3 separate regions of the Homo sapiens genome follow, and all the other regions are linked to region 3. The links are contacts of gene promoters, found by promoter capture Hi-C in human tissues and cell types (Jung and others, 2019). All regions are on one chromosome and are shown on one strand. The core of a region is centred on a gene start or on the middle of the fragment in contact, and the rest is flanking DNA. Distances in the headings are between cores, read along the strand shown.

Evidence for each region. The method cuts DNA at HindIII sites, captures the fragments that hold promoters and counts their contacts. A contact is called where the count stands out against the background at its distance.
Region 1: a fragment that was not itself captured here is called in contact with the fragment with the promoter of CCIN in region 3 in 2 of the 25 tissues and cell types used here (adrenal gland and lymphoblastoid cells).
Region 2: a contact is called between a fragment that was not itself captured here and the fragment with the promoter of CCIN in region 3, in 3 of the 25 tissues and cell types used here (IMR-90 fibroblasts, hippocampus and neural progenitor cells).

What each region holds. Positions count from the first base shown.
Region 1 is chr9:35,893,839-35,898,058 of GRCh38, reverse strand. No RefSeq gene overlaps it. Among named protein-coding and RNA genes, the nearest start is that of HRCT1, 10 kb to the left of the region's middle. RefSeq lists an enhancer at 2,170-2,669. The HindIII fragment of the contact is 7,635 bases long and covers 1-4,220 here.
Region 2 is chr9:35,817,092-35,821,504 of GRCh38, reverse strand. It overlaps FAM221B (family with sequence similarity 221 member B), which reads left to right. Exons shown (of 7, transcript NM_001012446.4): 4 at 1,505-1,615; 5 at 2,111-2,308; 6 at 2,496-2,615; 7 at 2,999-4,413. The coding sequence ends at 3,036. Among named protein-coding and RNA genes, the nearest start is that of HINT2, 4.3 kb to the right of the region's middle. The HindIII fragment of the contact is 5,842 bases long and covers 243-4,413 here.
Region 3 is chr9:36,167,226-36,171,701 of GRCh38, reverse strand. It overlaps CCIN (calicin), which reads right to left and starts at 2,314. Exons shown (of 1, transcript NM_005893.3): 1 at 368-2,314. The coding sequence starts at 2,199. The coding sequence ends at 433. The HindIII fragment of the contact is 27,142 bases long and covers 1-4,476 here.

The DNA of each region.
Region 1 (4,220 bases), core at 1,147-3,646, 270 kb after region 3:
ATCACTGAAAGCTCAGGTGATCATTAGCATTTTTTAGCAATAAGGTATTTGTTTTTTTGAGATGGAGTCTCCCTTTGTTGCCCAGGCTGGAGTGCAATGGCGTGGTCTCGGCTCACTGCAACCTCTGCCTCCCAGGTTCAAACGATTCTCCTGCCTCAGCCTGTGGAGTAGCTGGGACTACAGGTGCGTGCCACCACATCCGGCTAATTTTTTGTTGTTGTTGTATTTTTAGTAGAGATGGGGTTTCACTATGTTGGCCAGGCTGGTCTCAAACTCCTTACCTCATGATCTGCCCACCTCAGCCTCTCAAAGTGCTGGGATTACAGGCATGAGCCACTGCACCCAGCCAATAATGTATTTTTAAATTAAGATATGTACTTTTTAGACATAATGCTAATGCACACATAATAGACTATAGGATAGTGTAAGCATAATTTTTTATGCACTGAGAAACCAAAAAATTGGTATGACTCACTTTATTGCAGTGATTTGGAACTGAACCTGCAGTACCTCCAAGGTACTCCTGTGTTGCAAATGAGTAAAACAAAAAAAGTGTACTATTAGGAGGATACTCTTTTAACATTATTAAAAGGAAAAATATCTCAAACCAGTAGTCAACATCATGATTAATGGTGAAAAAAAATAGGCCTGTAATCCCAGCACTTTGAGATTCCTGTTGAAACCAGGAACAAGCTAGAATGCTTACTTCCACCATTTTTAGTTAGCTTAATACAATAACAATGTATAATAAAAGGTAGAAATATTAGAGATGATGTGACTACATATCTGGAAAACTTGAAAGAATATACTGGAGAACTATTAACACTAATAAGAGTTAATTTAAAAATTCAAATTTTTAAATAAAACTTAATTTAAATTTTTGACCAGGAGCAGTGGCTCATGCCCATAATCCCAGCACTTTGGGAGGCTAAGGCAGGCAGATCATTTGACTCCAGGAGTTCAAGACCACCCTGGCCAACATGGTGAAATCCCATCTCTAAATAATAATAATAATAATAATAATAATAATAATAAATTTAGATTCTAAAATTTAAAAATAAAAATACAAAATCGGTGATTTTCCTACATAACAGTAATTACTAATTCAAAGACAGAATGAAGGCATTATTGAAACTTAAAACAAAAATTATAAAACTTCTAAGAACAAACAAGAATAAACTTAACAAGAGATGTGGAAGACCAATGAACAAAAGAAAAAGCAAGTCTTCACTGACAGCTGTGAAAGAAGACCTGACTAACCGAAGCACCACACCATGTGTCTGAAAGGGAGGAGCCCGCATTATAGTCCAGGCTGCACTTCAGGGGATATGGATCCTGTGAGACTTGCAAACAACCTGCCACAAGCATCTGTTAAATAAATTCTTATATGCTATAGAGGTAATATTTTTGAAAAGTAGTAATATACTTTTTTTGAGATAGGATCTTGCTCTGTTGCCCAGGCTAGAGTGCAGTGGCATGATCAGAGCTCACTGCAGCCTCTACCTCCTCCCAAACAATCCTCCCGCCTCAGCCTCCCAAGTAGCTGGGACTCCAGGTGTGTGCCACCACGTCTGGCTAACTTTTTTATTCTTTGTAGAGACGTGGTCTCGCTATGTTGCCTAGACTGATAACCTGCTCTTTAAAGTTACTTTTCCAAATATGTAAGTTTCTTCCTAGTTGTTCCAGAGCATTTGTCTGGAGAGAGAGTTGAATTATTACAAAAAGAATGCAAGGAGAAGGACTTTAATATGCATGCAGTCTTTGACCTTCAAAATTGGACTTTGCCCTGTAAGTCAAGCCAGTTTCCTAAGAGGATTTTCCAAATTCTTTTTTCTCTCCCTTTCAACACACTGAATCAAGGACCAAACGAGGACCCAGCCCATGCAGATCTCCTATAACGTAGAAAGCTCCTCCATTCCACATGCGACAGCCATGTAGCCGAAGTTTGAAGCTCTAAGGTAGATGGAGGCCATGATATCCAGGCCTGGGAGAAGCCTGGTTCCTTCTGGCCCCAAAGGATGATGGGAAGGAGAGAGAAGAAAGGCATGAAGTGCAAAATGTGTGCAGCAGCTGCTAGGGAGCTTCAAAAACAAATGGGGAAGGCTACAGGAAGACAGGGCTAGAGGTGAATACACTGAGGCACTGATGTTATTTGGATGGGGAGTGTGGTCTGCAAAATCTAGGAATTCATGAAAATGTGACCTCATTTGTACATGCAGGGTGGTTAGTGCTGGCAATGTTTGTGTTACACCTATAAACACGCACAGACAGAAGTCTGAAGAGCTACAAGATGCAATCTTTATAGGGCTTCCTCTGAGCAGTGAGTTTGCAGGTGACTGCTTTTTATTTGGCATTTCTACATTTCTAAAACTTGCAACAATAAACATTTTACTTGTATAATAATGAAAGCAACAAAAGTTACAGCACCTTTAGAAAAATATTCAGAAGCATGCCCACCAAGTAGAACAGGTCTGCAAAGTGATCCACCTATTCACCAACGAAGAGAGCAGCTAGACCCCAGAATCATAAGCTTCATTGGTGTCATTTTAAAGATGCCAGCCAGGCGCGGTGGCTCATGCCTGCAATCCTAGCACTTTCGCAGGCCAAGGGCGGCGGATTGCCTGAGCTCAGGAGTTCGCAACCAGCCTGGGCGACACAATGAAACCCCATCTCTACTAAAATACAAAAAAATTAGCCAGGTGTGGCGGCGTGCGCCTGTAGTCTCAGCTACTCAGGAGGCCAAGGCAGGAGAATCGCTTGAACCCGGGAGGCAGAGGTTGCAGTGAGCCGAGATCGCGCCACTGTGCTCCAGCCTGGGTGACAGAGCGAGACTCTGTCTCAAAAAAAAAAAAAAAAGATGCCAACAGGTGGAAGAGGTCTCCTAGATTCACTGTCCTTGGGGATGTGTGGGAGCTGATTAATCCAAGGGGACTGCTTCTCCTGCCTTCCCTGGGCAGCATGTCCATGGGCTTTGAGACATGTATATGCAGTAAACATAGTGAACTTTCTTGAGCCTAAGTTTGCCCTCATGCACAACGAGGGAAGAACTGGAGACAGATTGAATCTGTGCAGTCTAAGATTTATTGCTCTCTGGATTTTCAAGTCTCTGTAATTTTCTGAAATCATTATCTAAAGATAATTGTGACACTTAGAATTATATTCATTGATATAACTAACATCTGTTGAACTAGACTCTGTGCCTGGTGCTGAGGCTGGGTAGAAAAAAGACAATCCATGCCTTCCAAGAGCTTTTTACCTAGGACAGGAGACAGAAATATAAATTATTACAACACACTGGGTAAATTCTGGGACCTAAATATTCACAAGGAAAGCACAAAAGGAGTCATTCATAAGCAATAATCTCCTTTCCTTTTCCTCCCCAACTATTTTAATAATTGCTAGAATAATTACACTTTACAAATGTATCTTTAGATCTCACAACAAACCTATTGTCCTCACATTACATAGGAGGCTTAGAGAGTTAAAGCTCTCACTGTTGCCCGGCATGGTGGCTCACCCCTGTAATCCCAGCACTTTGGGAGGCCAAGGTGGGTGGATCACCTAAGATCAGGAATTCGAGACCAGCCTGACCAACATGGTGAAACCCCATATCTACTAAAAATACAAAAAAATAGCTGGGTGTGTAATCCCAACTACTCAGGAGGCTGAGGCAGGAGAATCGCTTGAACCTGGGAGCAGAGGTTGCAGTGAGCCGAGATCGTGACACTGCACTCCAGCCTGGAGGATACAGTGAGACTCTGTCCCCCAAAATAACAAATAAATAAATAAAGCACCCATTCTGGGTCACGCAGTAGTAAATGACAGAGCCAGAATCAAGTGCAGACCTGTCTGACCCCAAAGCCTACCTCTAACCCAGAACAATATTGTGCTAGGCTGAGAGATGTAACCGAGTATGATGCTTCACTCAGAAAGCTTGCTCTCTGATGGGAAAGAGAAGTCATGTCTCCGAGAATCCACAGGAGAGGAAAATCAGGACACAGGCATAAGAGGATAATAAAGAGGAAAAGGAGAGAAGCTTTCAAGTTCTTTTGCCCTGAAATTTGAAAAAGCTCCTGATTAAGCTTTTGTAGAACAATGTTCAAAGAGATAATAATTTCCTGAGTGGGTTTTCAACCTGTCCTACACACATATAAAAAGAAACACTTCTAAAAAGTAGACAATAATCAAAAAATGTTATGGAGAGATGGTTGGATAGACAA
Region 2 (4,413 bases), core at 1,914-4,413, 350 kb after region 3:
CATCAAGACAGAAGAAGCAAAGCCAAAAGCCACATCTAGACAGGCTTTAGATCCTGACAGACTATGGGTAAGACAAGAAAACTTAATCTGAGGCACGGAATTGTGAATTGTGGCCCTGACCACAGTCAAAGACCAGATGATGCCACTCTCCTTATTCATGTTATGGAACCTCAGGGTTATGCCTGAATACTGGCTCTCTCTTCCTCTTGAAGGAATGAGCTCAATTGTTTAATCAGGCAATCTACGTTCTCTCAGCAACCATTTTGTGCCAGGCCTTGTGCTAGGATGAGAGATACGGGTGAAAAGACAGCTCCCTTGAAGAACTCATGGACTAATAGGAATACAAGGGAATGATCTATTATAATGCAGTGTACTGCAACAGGAGTAGCACAAGGAGCTATGGATGGCAATAGGAGGGGCCCAGACAGACAGGGGAAGTCAGGGACACCTTTTTGGTGGAGGTGACATTTCAGTTGAGCCTTTAATTGGGACTAAGAATCCTACACCTGGCAGTCCCACTGCATGGGGCCTCATACAGGATTCTTGGCTAGAAGTTGGGGTACTCTCAGTTCTCATGGAGAATGAGAAAATCTGAATTGGAGGTGCCATCTGGTTATCCTCCCTCAGTTGCACAGCACCACCCTCACCTCAAGACTAGTCACGAAGCCAGGGATTCAGACCTCACTGCTGAACACCAGCTCTCGAGGGTTGTGACCTCTTGCTGGTGCCTACTCTCAGGGACACTTCTTAGCCTCACTTTCCTTTCCACGCCTCCTTGCTTAGCCTCAAAATATATAATTTTTGGTCTTCACCACTCATGACTGCTACCTACCCCTTTCTCCTGACCCTTGAAGAACCTTTGGCAGCCCTTCTTAGGTACACAGAGAGCATTGGTACAATAGCACCAGGAACACAGAGGGAGGTATTAAGGTACCAACGTGGAGACGTGAGAGGAAGCCCTCCTCCTACCTTCCAGCACCAGAGCTATCCAACCTCCTTCTCCTCTTCAGGACCTTCAATAAATATGCTCCTTAGGAGCCAATCCCATTGTCTGTACATCTGGCCAATCATCTTCCCTTTCCCTCACCTTAGACACTTCAAGAAAACAAAGCAAAGTTGGGCTTTAGTGGGATGAGGAGAGGAGATGAGAATCCCTGTGGTCACAGAGAACTCAGTGAGATTCATGTTCATCCTCAAACAAAATTTCATCTATAATCTTCCTGCTCAGAAACCACTCTCTTGAGTCATCTCTGGCAGGCTGACAAAGATGGAGTAGATCCTGGGTAGGAAGAGAACTGAAGACACTTCTGGGGTAATGAGAAAACCCTGAGGAAAAAGAAAATCTAAGGGGTAGAGGTGAGGACTTCCAGGTGGAGATAAAGATACCTGGGGGTGGGGAGAGGTAAGTTCCCCCCACCCCCTCACCTCCATCAAGGGATAGGTAAGAACACTTCGGGGGAGCTTAGAATTTTTTTACTTCTCACTTTTAATCCTGCATACCTAGGTCTCTACATTGGCTGGCGCTGCCCCCATTACCTATGGGACTGTTTCCGGATTGGGGATGAGTCCAGATGCTTTTGTGGACACTTGTTGAGAGAGCACCGGATCATCTCAGGTAGGGGAGAACTGACCAGCCCCTCTCGAGTGTGGAGGAATAACTGTACTCTGTCATGTCTTGGGAAGTATGAGAGAGAGCATGTGGCTGGGCACGGTGGCTCACCCCTGTAATCCCAGCACTTTGGGAGGCGGAGGCGGGTGGATCAAAGGTCAGGAGATCGAGACCATCCTGGCTAACACAGTGAAACACCGTCTCTACTAAAAAATAAATAAATAAATACAAAAAATTTAGCCAGGCATGGTGGCACGCACCTGTAGTCCCAGCTACTCAGGAGGCTGAGGCAGGAGAGTCACTTGAAGCCAGGAGGCGGAAGTTGCAGTGAACTGAGATCATGCCACTGCACTCCAGCCTGGGCGACAGAGCAAAACTCCATCTCAAAAAAAAAAAAAGCATGTCTGCGTGCATAGGGGGTGGTGGGGATGGAGGATGGGGTTGGCATGAGAAGGCAAGGTCCTATCAGATTAACCCTACCATCCATCCCCAATCCCACAGACATATCGGTGCCCTGCAAGGTAAGCCAGTGCCGCTGCTTCATGTTCTGCTTTATCCCATCACGCCCAGAGGAGGTGGGTGAGTTCTGGCTCAAGAGACGGGCCACCTTTGACCCCAAGGCCTGGAGGGCCCAATGTCGCTGCAAACACAGCCACGAAGAACATGCAGCCACTGGGCCCCATCCCTGCAGGCATCATGGTAACTTCTAGGGCAAGAGGTGTATTGGGAGCAGGGTAGGTGGGGATAGGATGCAATCTGGGGATAATGATGGAGAGCAGGTATGAGAGCCTTGGGCATGCGGTCACTGAGGAAGAGATGAGAATGTGGTCAGCTCCTGGGGATACCACCATTTCCTAAACTCTTCTTGGCTGCACTTTTGCCCCAGGCTGTTGCTGCGGCTGTTTTGAGTCTAATTTCCTCTGTGCGGCCTGTGACCGGCGCTGGGAGGAACACGAGACTTTCTTTGACACCCAGAAGACCCGGCAACGAGGAGGAAGGCCTCGCGGTGAGGCAGAAACCTGGGACAGGGGGCCATTCCAGGGTCTGTAGTCAGAAGGCCAGGCAGGAAGGCACTCCCATCCTCAACCATCCCTTCCAGGACTAGCGCGCTCCCTCAGCCCACCTCCCCACCACCCACCTACCTGCATCCCACATCTGCACTGGTTTTCACCCCCAGGAGCAGACTATGTACCTTTTGCAGAGATGGCTGTGCTCCGAGAAGCCATCCTCAGCAACTCTGACTTCTAGGCCCTGCAGATACAGGGGCCCTCTGGCCTTCCCAGCTCCCACCCTAGTCCCCCGGGGCTCCCTGGTTCACACGGTCTCCAGCCTGGCCTCCCTTCTGACCCCCATACCTGACCCTTTCACCTCTGCTCTTTCTTCCTCCAGGGACAGACACTGTCAGCAACTGGCACAGGCCTTTGTGAGTCTGGCCCAGATCAGCAATAAAAGAGGAGTCATTGGAACCTGACTTGGCTCTATATGGGGCAGGTAGATCCCAGCCCAGGGAGAGACTGCCTAATAACTTAGAGTTGACACCTATTAGACACAGGAGAAAGCCTGGATCTGGCCATCTGCCTCCATCACACTCACATTCAAGCTGCCTGTTGAAGGAAAGTGGCTTCAAGGAAGTCAAGAAGGGAGGAAGTTTCAAGAAGGATAGAGTGGGAAGTGATGTTAGATGCAGTTGGGGCACCAATAAGATAAAGACTGAAAAGTGTCCATTGGGTTTTGCAATTAGAAGATCTTTGGGAACATCGGAGAGTGCAGTTTCACACTGGTGCAGTGGAGGCAGGAGTCAAACAGCAGTGAGTTTCAAGGAGTCTCTTAAAGAAGCTTGGATGAAAAGTACAAAAGTAAAGTCAGACAATATCCAGAGGGAGTTGTGGAGTCAAGGAAGTACTTTTGTAGGAAGGAAAAGGGGAAGAGGCCAGTAGACTAAAGGACCTTGAAGGACCCAGAAGAGAGAGAAGAGATGCCTGGTGAGACAAGATCCCAGAGATGGAGGAAAGGGATGAGGTCAAAGCAGAGGTGAAGGGATTTTCTCTGGACAGGAGAAACACCACTTCCTATGACCAAGACGAAGGAAGAGGATGGAGCCTTCCTAGAGTTTCAGGGAACAAGAACCTGTGGAAGTTCCCCTCTGATGGCTTCTATATGCCCTGTGAAGTAGGAGATAAGGCCAATGGCTGGGGTCCAGGGGAAGAGGGATAAGAGTAGGGAGCAGGAGACAAGAAGAGAAAGGGGAAGGTTTGGGAAGGCTAATGTAGGGAACTGGAGAAAAACCTCATCAGTGGGTAGTTCAGGATTCGGGCACAGTTGGAAGTGAGAACCTAGTTAGAGAAGCAGAGAATCCAAATATTTAATGGGTTGATGATGTGAGGGTGTCAGGGAGGAAGATCAGGAAAACTAAGCAAAAGAAGGCATGAGGATGTGAAGGGAGCATACAGCACCAATAGGGAAAGAAAGTGATGCCAGGAGGCAAATGACAGATTGAAAAAGGGAGCAGTCAAAGGAAGAGAAGTCTCTAATGAGGTACAGTAGCAGACGTAGGGGCAGGGGTTGGAGTACAAGAGACAGTGTTCAGAGGCTGCAGAGCATAACATCTTTCAGATGAGGGCAAGTGAAGGTGATAAGTGCTTGAAGTAGAGAAAACTGTGGGCCAAGGATCAAAATCAGTGAATGTGGGAAGTCACAAGGGAGTCCATAGGTTCTTATGGGAGTAGGAGATTCCAGCACTAATGGGCTCTGTGAACCCAGGCAAGTCACTGTCCCTCTTTAGGCTGAGTTTCTGGACCTGTAAA
Region 3 (4,476 bases), core at 1,065-3,564:
TCCTGGCCATGAGATTCCTCTCTCAGACCTGGGACGGGTCCTCCCCTGCTTTTGTGAAAGACCGGAGGGAAGCAGGTGCTGGAGGAGCTTGATGCTTCACAGCTCTGAGTGGATGTTTACCTGCCAATCTAGCAGATGCCTGAGAGGTGATCACAGGGGTACAGAATAGGGGACAGACATCGCCTTGGCCAGTGCCTGGGAGGGGCCTCAATTCCACCCACCAGGGGTTCCTTTCCAGGCCCTGTTGGATACCTCCAATGACATAGTGGCCCTGAGTTTCCACCCACTGGGAGCAGCCCTCCCCTAGGATCTCCACCTTCAGGGCCAAGCATGGACTGGAACACTAAGAAGGAAACAACAGGCCATCTTCCTCTCTTTCTCTCATTAAATCGTGAATAATAATGCATTTACTTATTCTCCCACTTAAAATGTTTAAATCCTTTGAAGAATCTTGCAAGGTAGCTTGGCTAGACAGCAGGCAGGACAGTCCAGTGCCTCTGGTGGAGGAGCCAGGGTCTTCCACTTGCCTGTCTTTTGGTCCAGCAAGAAGGCATTTGGATTGATGGTGTAGTCCTTTGTCTGGACATCGCTGGCAGTGGTGACACCCCCACATACAAACACCTTGCTGTCTCCAATGGAGCATATAGCATGGGACACATCCAAGGGGCAGCTGTTGGGCAAGACAGGCACTGAGGTGGTCGTCTTGCTTGCCTTCACCTTCTGCAGATTGATTTCCACACTCTGCCGGTGGCTGTGCACGCAGAGGATGTTGTCCTGTTGGAAAGAGAGCAGGGGCCGATGGTTGAACTCAATGGGGAAGGTGATACACTGGACCACGTCCCCAGTGCTGGTGTCAAAGCAGTCCACTACCCCGACCCGGGAGATATAACCTTTCACCAAGCACCGTCCAGTGACAATGTACAGATGCCTGTCTCCTTTAGTGATCACGGCGGTGCCATCCATGGGGATGCTCATCTTTCCTGCCAGGCACCAGACTTCCTTCCGCTCATCATAGCGATAGATGTTGGAGACATACCGCCTTGGGGCAATGCTCCCGCCCACTGAGTACACTGTCCCCCCACAGGTCACCATGGTGTGGAAGACAAGCCCGATGGGCAGGTCAGGCAACTTGGTCCAGGAGTTGTCATCCATGTCATACCGCCAGGCTGTCTTCAGCCCTGAAATCTGCTCAGTGGTGCCACCAGAGATGTAGATGTAGCGACCAGCAGAGGTGGCACTAAGTGCTGCTGCCCGATAGGGCATGTCTGAGAGCTTCATCCACAGGTTCTCCTGGATGATATAAGCAAACACTCCATCATTGAACTGGCCGTGGGCCTTCTGGCCACCGAGGATGACCACGGAATCAAGCAGGGCCCCTTTCCGCTGGTAGACCAGCAGGCTGCATGGCCGCTCCTGCTTGCGGTCCATCAGGACACTCTCAATCAGGGTTGTATGGGATGAGGTGTTCTCCATGCCCACCAGCTTGTTGCTGGCAAACACCAGCGTCTTATTGGAGACAGCATTGAGATTGATGTAATTGAAGAACTTCTTGAAATACTTCTCCCGATCCTCCTTCCGGAAGTACACCCAATTGATGAGTGCGCTGAGCGCCTGGTCTTCATTGAGCACGTGAAGGTTTTCATCACGGAGCAGGCGGCCAAAGATAACAGGTGGACAGCGCATGAAGTGCATGGAGCCCTCAGGACTGGCCCAGTAGTGGAAGTTGTCCCGAATGCCAGAGTAAGCTACGTCTGATACCTCTTTGAGCTCAAACAGCTCAGCCAAGAAGAGGTAGCGCAAGCAGTTGGCACGGCAGATGGACTTAATAAGGAAGTCGTTACAGTGAACTCGAAGGCGTGGTGTGTTGAAATACTGAGCCCCACGAAGCAGCTCCTCCACATTTTGCTCGGAGATCACCACCTTGCCGCTATAGAAGTAGTCCAGAAGCTGGTCCACTGTGACCGGGCTCAGGTAACTGGTGTCAATGGTGATGAAAAGCTCATCAGCGGTCTTCATGTCATTGCTGGAGATGAGGCTCCTCACCAGTGGGGAGACAGCAGCCAGCACATTGCGATGTGCAAAGAAGACGTGGTTGTCCACACTCAGGGCCATGTCCCAGTACTCTTTGCGTTTCCTCTGTCTGTTCAGGTTCTGCAGCACGAAGCTATTGTAGTTTTTCTCCGTGAATTCCAATTTCATGGTGCCTCTTGTCGGCTGAAACAGATCAGCAGCAGGTACTGGAGAGCAGACTTTCTCAGGCCTGTGGGATCAGATTGATGGTTGTTTGCAGAGCGGTTGACCAGGGAGAAGAGAGGGTGGAAGAGAGGATGATGTCATAGAGTGGATCAGGTCATCACAATGCAGGCCTCCCTGAGGCCTGTCTCAGAGGCACTGGGCCTTCCTCCCCTCTGATCTCTCCAACCTGCCAAGGCCACATACCCTAGCAGGACCTAAAGCCCTGGGCCCAGAGCTCAGGAGGAACCTCAGGGATGGGCGGCAACTTCCACCTGGGACTTTCAAACCGTAGTTAAAGGCTTCTGGAATATCAGAGCCAGTCTGGGTGGGGCAGTGGGGAGCAGTTTGTGTAGGAGAGATAAGGGGAGGTGGGGAAAGGGAAGAGATTATTAGACCTAGAAGAATCCTCCCATTTTGAGGGAAACTGAGGCCCAGAGAAGAGAAGGCACTTGCCCAAAATCACATAGCCAGTTGGAAGCCGAGCAGGGCCCAGAACCTGGGGAACCTCGCATTCTTCCTACCCTTCTGGAAGCTCCTGACTACCCAGCTTTCCCCAGTCTCTGACTCTCAACTCTCCAAGCACTCTTCCTGCCAAGGCTCCTGGGCATCAGAGAAAAGCTCTGTCCTTTGGCTTCTGACCTTGGTGGCCACAGACATCATTCTCCTTCAAAATGGAGAGGTGGAGGCCACTCCCTGGAGCAGGGATGAAGGAGTTAACCACAAACGGGGGCATGGGAGGGTCTTTAAAGACCGGATGATTTCAGCTCCTTGGCAAACTAGAATGTTCCCCCAACATTTCCAAGTGTCCAGTTGGAAAATGTTGGGGGCTTCAGTGGGTCAGCTTTCTCCATCAAAGGTGGACTTGGGCGAGTTGATCAGACTTTCTAAACCTCAGTTTCCTCCTCTGTGAGATGGAACTAATATTTGATAGTAGTACCCACTTCAAAGATTATTATGAGTTTATTTTTATTTTTATTTTTATTTTTTTGAGACAGAGTCTCGCTCTGTCACCCAGGTTGGAGTGCAGTGGTGCGATCTCAGCTTGAAACAGCCTTTGCAAAATTATGACTGAGACAGTGAAAGAGATCAACTTAACTGACTCCATCTTGCTTCTAACCTCCAAGCTGTCCTTGCTCATTCCTTGGCAAAGGCTGAACTAACTTTGGGAGAAACCTATATGTATAGTTTACGGTTTAAACAAAGACAGCCCTTTCCCAAAGCAGACCTCCTTCTTGCCTGGGGACTAGATTGCCTTTGTAGGACTAACATTAGCCACAAGATTAGAAATTATGGTTTAGGAGTCATGTAGCTGGAGGCTACAAGATTCTAACCCTCCCTAAACTGCTCCTAAGACCAGTGCTTGAGATTTCTCTTTTTTTTTTTTTTTAGACAGTTTCGCTCTTCTTGCCCAGGCCGGAGTGCAATGGTGCGTTCTCGGCTCACCACAACCTCCAACTCCCGGGTTCAAGCGTTTCTCCTGCCTCAGCCTCCTGAGTAGCTGGGATTACAGGCATGCACCACCACACCCGGCTAATTCTGTATTTTTAGTAGAGATGGGGTTTCTCTATGTTGGTCAGGCTGGTCTCAAACTCCCGACCTCAGGTGATCCACCTGCCTCAGCCTTCCAAAGTGCTGGGATTACAGGCGTGAGCCCCCGTGCCCGGCCGGTGCTTGAGATATTTTGCAGAACCTGCACTTGATGGATCAGCTGGCACCACTCAGATCAATAAACTGGCTCATCTGATCTTGTGGCCCCCAGACCCAAGAACTGACTCAGCCCAAGAAGACAGCTCCAACTCCCATGATTTCATCTCTGACCAATCAGCAGCACTCCTGGCTCACTGGCTTCCCCCTACCCACCAAGTTATCTTTAAAAACTCTGCTCCCCCAATGCTCCGGGAGACTGATTTGAGTAATAATAAAACTCCAGGCCGGGCGCGGTGCCTCATGCTTGTAATCCTAGCACTTTGGGATGCCAAGGTGGGCGGATCACCTGAGGTCATGGTTTCGAGACCAGCCTGGCCAACATGGCAAAACCCTGTCTCTACTAAAAATACAAAAATTAGTTGGGAGTGGTGGTGCATGCCTGTAATGCCTGTAATCCCAGCTACTGGGGAGACTGAGGCAGCAGAATCGCTCGAACCCGGGAGGCGGAGGTTGCAGCGTGCCCAGATCGCACCATTGCACTCCAGCCTGGGCGACAGAGTGAGACTCCGTCTCAAAAAAAAAAACCCCAAAAAA